Linked DNA regions of Homo sapiens: region 1 is linked to region 2. Evidence: promoter capture Hi-C in 16 types of primary human blood cells and fetal thymus (Javierre and others, 2016). All regions are on one chromosome and are shown on one strand. Each heading gives the region's core, a stretch centred on a gene start or on the middle of the fragment in contact. The rest is flanking DNA. Distances are from core to core; before and after follow the strand shown.

What was found. Contacts are between HindIII fragments. The CHiCAGO score rates a contact against its expected background, and 5 or more counts as called.
Region 1: a fragment that was not itself captured here is called in contact with the fragment with the promoter of GNAS in region 2 in 13 of 17 cell types (total B cells, naive B cells, naive CD4 T cells and 10 more); the score reaches 14.4 in total B cells.

The regions. Positions count from the first base shown.
Region 1 is chr20:59,211,929-59,218,054 of GRCh38, reverse strand. All of the region lies in intron 4 of ZNF831 (zinc finger protein 831), which reads right to left. Among named protein-coding and RNA genes, the nearest start is that of ZNF831, 51 kb to the right of the region's middle. The HindIII fragment of the contact is 1,003 bases long and covers 3,441-4,443 here.
Region 2 is chr20:58,890,057-58,892,670 of GRCh38, reverse strand. It overlaps GNAS (GNAS complex locus), which reads right to left and starts at 1,250. Exons shown (of 13, transcript NM_000516.7): 1 at 806-1,250. The coding sequence starts at 944. RefSeq lists silencers at 93-182, 1,053-1,272, 1,283-1,782, 1,843-1,992. The HindIII fragment of the contact is 29,581 bases long and covers 1-2,614 here.

The DNA.
Region 1 (6,126 bases), core at 2,693-5,192, 320 kb before region 2:
TTCTGGGAGGTAGCTGAGTAACACTGGGGCTTGGCAGCCTGCAGATCAACTCATCTCTTTTGCAAATTGCTAACTGGGTCTAATGAATTGGCTGGGCACAGAGGAAGGCCTTGATGTCCTTTGCAGTGACAGAGTCCCCCCAGAGCAGGCTGATCCATCGTGCCTCTGCTGAGGAACACATCTATTAATATTTGGTGAGAATATCAAATTGTGCCCAGTGGACATAACATCTGGTCAAGAGAAACTTACTTCTCTGTGATTTAAAAAAATAAATAAATAAATAAACGAGTCTTATCGTCCCTCCATGTTCTTTTTTTCTACTAGAGAATGCCAGCCTTCCACGGACAGAATGGATAACAGACCCCTAGTGAGAATCAAGGAGGGCTGGAAAGGCCCTCCCATCCACAGGCATAGAAGGTAGCATCTTTTACTCATCCAAGGGGAAAAGAAGAAAAAGTTTTATAAACTGGAGGAAAAGAGAGGTATTTAATATGCTACTGGTAGGGGTATAAACTGGGAAGCAATTTGAAAATGGCTATTAAAAATGTGCAACACAACACTCAAAGACCCAGCAATTTCTCTTCTTGGTTATTCCCTAGAGCAAACCCTGCCTGGGCTAAGGAGATATAAACAGTGTGTCCAAGGAGCATGATGCAAGTGTGAAACACTGGTGATGACCAAACTCTTCGTTAATAGGAGAATGGCTTCATAAATAAGAGTATTCCCACCCAGAGGGACTCTGTCCCTGCTCAGGAAGTTGAGACAGAGCTACATGTTTTCACAGTGTGGAACCACAAAACATTTTTGAGTAAAAAGAGCAAGTTGTGCAATGAGATGTGCAGTGTGCTGCTGCTGTGTTACACACACACACACACACACACACACACACACAGAGATGAAGATCTGTCAGATGTACTCCAGACTCCAAACTGTCATTTTACCTGAGGATGGTATTGGGATGGGGTAGTGGTGAAACTGAACATCAGCCTTATCTATTGCATTTTTATGTGTTAAGTATTATTCATGATTACACGTGTAATTAAAAACTAATAATTAACTTTTTTGCCCCTCTAGGTGGAGCATCACTTTTGCCAAGTTTTTTTTTTTTAAGAACAAAAGTGCCCCACCTGTCAGTGGTCTTCTAATCAGTCACCTCATACCCACTCTATTTACCCCAATTCTTGCTCCACTCTGTGTCTAGAGTGATCTTTAGAAAACCTAAATGGGATTATCTGCATAATCCTGTTGTTCTCAGGAAAAAAATTTCAGGCCCCGACTGAGGCCTGAGAAGTCCTGCAGGTGATGCCCTGTCCTGTGAGCCTCCACTGTACCTGCGCCCGTCCCCCATGCACCTGGCACACTAGCCATCTGTCTATCACGCATTCCATCCTGTGAGCCCCCACTGCACATGTGCCTGTCCCCCACTCACCCTGGCACACTGGCCATCTCTCTATCATGTGTGTACCACTTCCTCCTGGCACAGGCAGCATGCCCACCATGGGCTCCCAATCAGTGTCCCAGAATCTTAGAAATGCAGGGTTTCCGGGAGCCAGAGGTTGCAGTGAGCCGAGATCACGCCACTGCACTCCAGCCTGGGCGACAGAGTGAAACTCCATCTCAGTCAATCAATCAATAAGAAATGCAGGGATTCAGGCTGCCTCCGAAACTCTTGGCAAGTGCCTCTCACCCTAGCCCAGTGAAGCAGAGAAGGGAAGGCTCTTCCAGGAGGGTCTTTGCAGAATGTTGCCCATGGCCTCTGCAGTCAATTCTGCTGAATTGGTTCAGTGGTTTAAATCCATACAGGTCAAAGCCTTACAAAAATTGAGAAAATTCTAGATGAGACAATGCAAGCCAATGAGGATCCTACTGACAGAAAAAAAGGGGGTATGGCTCTCCAAGAGAGGGGCCCAGGGAAGGGTGTGGGGGTTGGTGGTTATTTTAGGTGATTGATAAGCAAAAAGTTAAATAAAACTGAATTGCACAATGATGAAGCTGTTCTCTCTTCTATTCTCTTTTAATCTTCTGATTAAGGAGAGAAGAAAGTCTCGACTAGGTGCTAATGCATCTTGAATGCTTCCCTAACACTTCCAAATCTCTTTTTAGCAGAAGGGGTATTCCTAGGGCTCATGGACTTCAGCTCACAACAGATTCTGGCTAGAACTTATTTACCAAAAACATTGTAGGGTTTATATTTTTGCCATGTTCCCTTAATGGCACATAATATTAACTTTTCATTTTCAGTATCGATAAACAGCTTCTCTTGAAATAATTGGACTTAAGTTTTTTTGTAAGTGCACCTAGGAGAAAAAATAAGTAAAGAATCACATAGGTGACATGTAGATGCAACAAAAGTTCTGAAGGTGGCACCTAGATGATTTCAATTTAGGCCTCAGTGCTGATCCCCAGATCAATCATCTGGGTGCCTCTGGGCAAGTCACTGGACAACTCTCTAAGCCTCAGTTTCTCCATCTGCCAAAAGAGGATAAAAGTCACTCATCACAAGTGTGTCCAAGGGAATAAATGCATATGAGCTTCCTAAATCGAAAGTGCCTCCTGAGTTTAGTTATTGAGAGAGTTTTCTAAAATCTCCATTGGAAATATAGCCCTGAACCTTGCTGTGTTTACTGTTATAAACCATGCCAGCTGCAGGAAATTGCAAAACCATAAACTCAATGTAGTTCTTATCGTTCAATAAAACATCTCCCTCAATCAATAAGACTTCAGATGTGTCATCTGGGCACAGGGCCATGCTCAGCTCCTCTTCACTGTTCCAATTTTAGTCTGTGTACCAGGAGAAGCGGCACGACTTCCAATGTGCCCAGCAAAAGCCCAAATAATTAACCTCAACCACATCAATGTTCTCCATTCAGTTCCGCAAAATGTGTTTCTAAGGAAATATATAAGAGCACTCTTTATACCACGGAATGTTTTAATGTACCCAAGCATTCGAGTAAATAGAACAGGTCTCAGTTAATGGAACTTTTAGCACAGAGGTTTTCAATAATAATAATTTTTTACAAAGCTGATATGTCATCGGCTAGAAAGAGATGTGCAGATAAATATAAAAACAGGGAAAATCTATTTATGAGATTATTTTTTGCAGCCCAAGGGTCAATAACTGTCATATTAGGAGAATGATAATAAGGCTGTATGTTGATGGGCATTAGGATCACAGAGAACAGGATGTCCCAGTTGAAATACAAACAAAATCAATGACGTTGCCTTCATCCCCCTACCTCCCTACATTCTGAATAATAATCATTTCAGATCAGTGACCTCATCAGAAATTGTGTAACCACAACAGAGAATCTTCGGCAGCTTTTGCTTAGGTGGCATCACCCTTCATATGGATGTGTAATTTTCAATTGCTTTTTCTAATGGAAAACTGACACAAGAGCATGTGAGCACATGTGCAGACACACACACATACATGCGAAGCTTGTCTTCCTAAGTGAGACTCTAACTGGGAAAATAGTGGGAAGAGCATTTTCAAGACATGATTTGCTGTGAATTTCTCCTTGGGCTAGAAGGGACGGTCTTTGACTGAGTGGCACCAGCTGACTCAAGATGACATGGAGTAGCTGTCCAGTGGAAAACTGCCCCCCAGTTCCTATGCTAGAGTAAGAAAGGCATTCCAAGTGAGAAATGAAACGGCAGCACAGTCCCATCACACATGCATTTAACCTACACCCTGACTGTTGAAGCTCACCCTTCCCTGACCCAAGAAGACACAACTCCACTATCTTGCTTAATCCTCACCATAACAACTCAATCCATTAAGATGTCACAGCAGTTTTAGAGGCTTAATGCTAAAACCAAATGGCACACACCATGCAGTGAAGCAGGGACACGTGGGAATTTTTCTAACCTCTCTTCAGTGGGAGGATTTGCTGTTTATCTTCAAAGCTGCCTGCATGGATGGATGGCCTTTTTTCTTTCCTTCTTTCATCTCAGCAGTCCTCACGCATATTGTGCACGAGAATTTCTGTTCAGAGTTGTATAAACAAATCGTACCCTTATGATAGATTTGCAGGATTCTCAAAGATAATTTTGACAATAGGGATTGTGCCTTGGGGGCCAGCTTTGGAAACAAACCTCACCAGCCTTTACAACATGGCCCCACTGTAGTGTGGGAGAGAGAGGACGTCAGGTTAAAAGGCATGGAAAGGACATTCGCAGTTCGGTTACTACTTTTACCTCCCCAGAGCTTCCATCCATAAAACGGAGGTGACATAAGATGACCCCTAAGGTTGAAAATGGTGATTCCATAGAGTTGAATTTTGCGGTTACTCCACTGCCATCCCACTGGTAACCCACTGGATTTTTCCATTTTTGACACAACGCACAATCAGAAACCAAGACTCCAAGTGGCATGCTCGCTCTTGTTCATGCTCAAAGATTTGGGGGCTGGTCTTTGCTGGTGCTTTCACCTGAAACTAAGCTTCAGGAACCTCAAGGTAAAGAAACTTATGTTTGTTAAATTGTTCATTCAACAAACTTTATTGAGGACCGGCTACATTGCTAGGCCCCTGGATGCAAACATGGAGGAGATGACCTAGCAGCTTGGTAAACAAGGTCTTCTTTAGTTGAGATCATTGCTACAGGGGAAAGGCCACCTAAAATGAATTCATTCACAATTAATTCGCAATACCACAATTTCACAGTGAATAGTATTAAGGACTTTGAGAATTTATCTGGAAAAACGACAAAACCAAAAGTTGTGAAAATAAGCTAATATGCCCACAACGATAAAATAAAAATAAACCTCCATTTTGGAGGTTATAATGGCAAACTATGAGCTAATTGTTAAAAATCAACAAAACGTAGTCAAGTATTGATGAGGACATACATTTTTACATAAAATTGTAGGGTAGACCAATGGACTATTTACCTCGCATTTACTTTAATTGCTAGGTCATCAAGAAGGACTCCCACCCCCAAAAAAATATTATAGAGCTTTATCAATCTTTCCAAAGACTTCTCTTAAGCCTCTGATATTCAAGTCACTCTCCTAGAGTTATCATCTTTGTCACTTTTCTCTTGTTCATTTGTCACCTAGTCTGATTCTGCCAATGGGTGTGAATCAGCAGGCTGCCAATGGTCTTTTCTATCAGTTTCACAAAATGCAACATCTTGAGCACAATTTGCAATTTCACTTAGCAATCAATTTCCATGATATTGCGAAAATTAATCTGAAGGGCATGGATGGATGTGATGGTAGGCAAGGAGAGAGAGAATTGAATGGGGTCTAAATTTACCAGCAGTCAGTCTATTAGGGAAAGTTCTCATGTTCCCACCTAACCAGCCAACCTTATGACTGGAGTGCTCCATAAAGAACATCTGGATTATAAGGTAGATGCCTGTTTTCCCTGGTACATCAATGACTTGATATCTAAGAACTTTCTTACCAATCCCTTCAATGAGACAGCCCCAGTCTATGAGATTAAGTGCACCCCTCAGCCCTGATCCTAAAGCAAATGCAATGAGGAAGGATGTTCTTTAAAACGGCAAAACTTCTGTCCATTCTTAGTCACACTCAGCCTGGGGTGCCTGGGAAATACACCTTAGTTGATATTTAAAAAGAAATTTCAAGTTTCCTGCACCCACTAGCTGGAAACTTGGATGGAATGGACTACCGGATTTAGGATTAGGGAAAAAAGACTCAGTTGTCCGGGCAGTCTCACAGACTCCAATCGATGTACAATCTTACACGGTAGGTCTTTATCCTTCATAACTCCTCTGGCCTTCTGCTTACAGATGACTTCACTGCCAAGCCATCTGTTAATTCAAATGATTAGAACCATGCTTTTGGAATAGTTTAGGAGAGAGGGAAATTAAACATCTTTTTTAAAAATATTTTTTTAAAAAACTCTCTCTCCATCATCCTCCCAAGTTATTGACAGGAAGTGTCTCCAAAAAATAAAGAAGACAAAATTATCAGTTATCACATCTTATTTCAGTCCCTGGACACAAGTATTCATGACTTCTTATTTCTGAATGTTTTGCTGATTCTAGCTGGCCTAAAAGGATTAGTATCTAAAGTTTTTCTCTGCCTTTAAATTGAGAAATCCCACCCACCTCCACCTACACAAAGGTCATTCTCAATTTCTTTGTTGGATTCTACCA
Region 2 (2,614 bases), core at 1-2,500:
CCGGGACACGTCTGCTCCGCGCACACACAGTCAGTCGGTCCTGCCCGAAACGCACCAAGTCGCGCCCAGCGGCAACCGCCCTCCCTCCTCCCCTCGCCGCCCCCCTCCCGACTCCGGCGCCACGACTCCCTTGCGCCCCCTCCCCCCCACTGCACCACCTTTACCGCTCCGATCCTTTCCGAGGGGCTGATGTCACCAGCCCCCCCACTCTCCTCGGCCACTTCTCCCCGCCAAAGCCTCCCTTTGGCGAGGCCCCCTCCGCCACCACGGCGCCCCCCAGCGTCACCCCCTCCTCTCCTCGCCCCTTTCTTCCCCTCTTTCCCTCTCCCAACAAATCTCACACCCCACGGAGGCGGGTCCCCCTCCCTCTACCCGCCACCCGGTTTCCTGTCCCCGAAACCCTCTTTTTGTCGCAGTCTCCGGAGCCCCATGGGCTCCCCCTCCCCCTCCCCAACACGCACCCAAACCCCTGGCGTCGTGTAGGCCTCGCGGAAAAAGAGAGAAAGAGAGAAAGAGGGGGAGAGCGAGAGCGAGAGCAAGAGAGAGACACTGAGCGGGCAGGCCGGGGGAGGGGGACCCGCGCCCGCGTCGCCACGGCCCCCCGCCCCGTTTTTGAGCCCCCGCCCGGCCGAATCCGCGCCCCTGGGTCCCCCTTCCGGCCTCGCCCCCCACAGACAGAGCCCGCGAACGGGCGGGGGGCTCGGGAGCGCGCGCCCGGGGCGGGGGGCGGGCTCGGCGCGCGCGGCCTGCGGGGCGCCCTTCGAGGGCCCCCGGGCCGGGGCCGGCGCCCCCCGCCCGCCCTTACCCAGCAGCAGCAGGCGGTGCGTGGCCCGGTAGACCTGCTTGTCCTTCTGCAGCTGCTTCTCGATCTTTTTGTTGGCCTCACGCTGCGCCTTCTCCTCGTTGCGCTGGTCCTCGGTCTTACTGTTCCCGAGGCAGCCCATGGCGGCGGCGGCGGCGGCGGGGCGCGGCCGGGCTGCGGCGGCGGCGGGCGCGGGCGGCCTCACGCGGGCCGGGAGGGCCGGGGCAGCGCCGGGCGGGCGGGCCGGGCGCGGGCTCGGCTCCTCGGCAAGGAGCGCGCGGGGCGGACTGCGGGCCGCGGGCCGCGGGGCGCGCGGACGGGCGGGAAGGGGAGGGTGTCGGTCGGACCGAGGGGCGCGCGCAGCTCCCCGCCCCTCGAGCCGAGGCCGAGGGGGCTGATGGCCGCCGCCGGGCCGAGGCGGACCAGAGCAGGAGCTGCGGGAGCTGCTGCCGCCGCTGCCGCCGCCGCCGCTCTTATTGCCTCGGCCGGGCCCCCGCCGCCGCCCCGAGCCAAAAGCGCCGCGGCGGGCGGGGGGAGGCGGGGGGAGGAGGAGGCGGCGGCGGCGAGGGGGGTGGAAGGAGGAGGAGGAGGAGGAGGGCCGAGGAGCGGCCGCGGCGGCGGCGGCGGCTGGGAGGGCGGGAGCCGGCGGAGGGAGGCGGCCCCCCGGGAGCCCGGGGAGGGGGTCCCTCCGCCCGCGCCCGGCCGGGGACGGGACGGGCCGGGGAGACGCCCCCCACCCCCCGGGCTCGGGCAGCAGCCCGGCTGAGCCGAGGGGGGAGAGGGGGCGTCTCCGCGCCAGTGACGACCCCTCGCACGACGCCAACGCTCCACCCCCCGGACCGCGTCGCCCGGCGCCCCCGAGGCCTCCTCCCCCTCCCGCGGGCGCCGCCGAGGGGCTGGGGTGGGCGGAAGGGGAGGGAGCGCGCGCCCGGACTTAGGAAAATTTTCGAAAGAGCGAGAGACACAGAGAGCCAGAGAGCAGGAGTGTGGAAAAAGCGAGGCGAGCACGAACCAAAGGACAGAGCAACCGAAAAGGAAAATGTGTCCACACACACACACGAACACGAATAAAAACCCACACTACACAGCGATGGTGGTGTCTGGTGGCGGTGGCGGGGTGGGGGGTCTGACTAGATGAGCCGCTCCTCGCGCCCCCGGCGCCGGGCGCCATGGCCCGAGCCGAAGGCGCCTCTGGCCCCGGAGCGCCCGCGGCCTCTGCGCTTGGCGCGGCCGCCCAAGTAGGAGAAGAAGGCGCAGCCCAGGAACACTCGGAAGCAGCAGGTCGCCCCGAACACGAAGCCGCAGCCGCGGCCCTGCTCCGTGCGCTTCTGCAGCAGGAAGTTGAGCACCCACGAGGGGCTGCGCACCGAGAAGACCAGGAACACCACGAGGGGCAGGTGGGCGCTCAGCGCGCCAGCCTTGAGCGGCCCGGGCCGCCACACGATGCCCCCAACGCGCGGCGCCGCGTAGTAGGCGTCGTCCTCGTCGCTCGAGTCCGTGTCCCAGTCAGCCCAGGCCCTACTCGTGCCCCCGGCGGCGGCGCCCTCCTCGGCGCCCCCGACGGCGCCCTCCTCGGCGCCCTCGTCGTCGTCGGCGGCGGCCGCGGCGGCGGCGGCCTCGGGGCATCGGGCCTCCTCCTGGGCTTCTGGCACCTTCTTCTTCTTCTTCTTCAGCATCTTCTCCATCTTCTTCCTCTCCTTCTCCTTCTTCTTCTCCTCCTTTCGCCTCTGCTCCAGCAGCTTCTTCTCGAGCTTCTTGCGCTCCTTGTCTGTTAGGAACTTTTCGGGGAGCGCCTCCCGCGCCGGGTTCTTG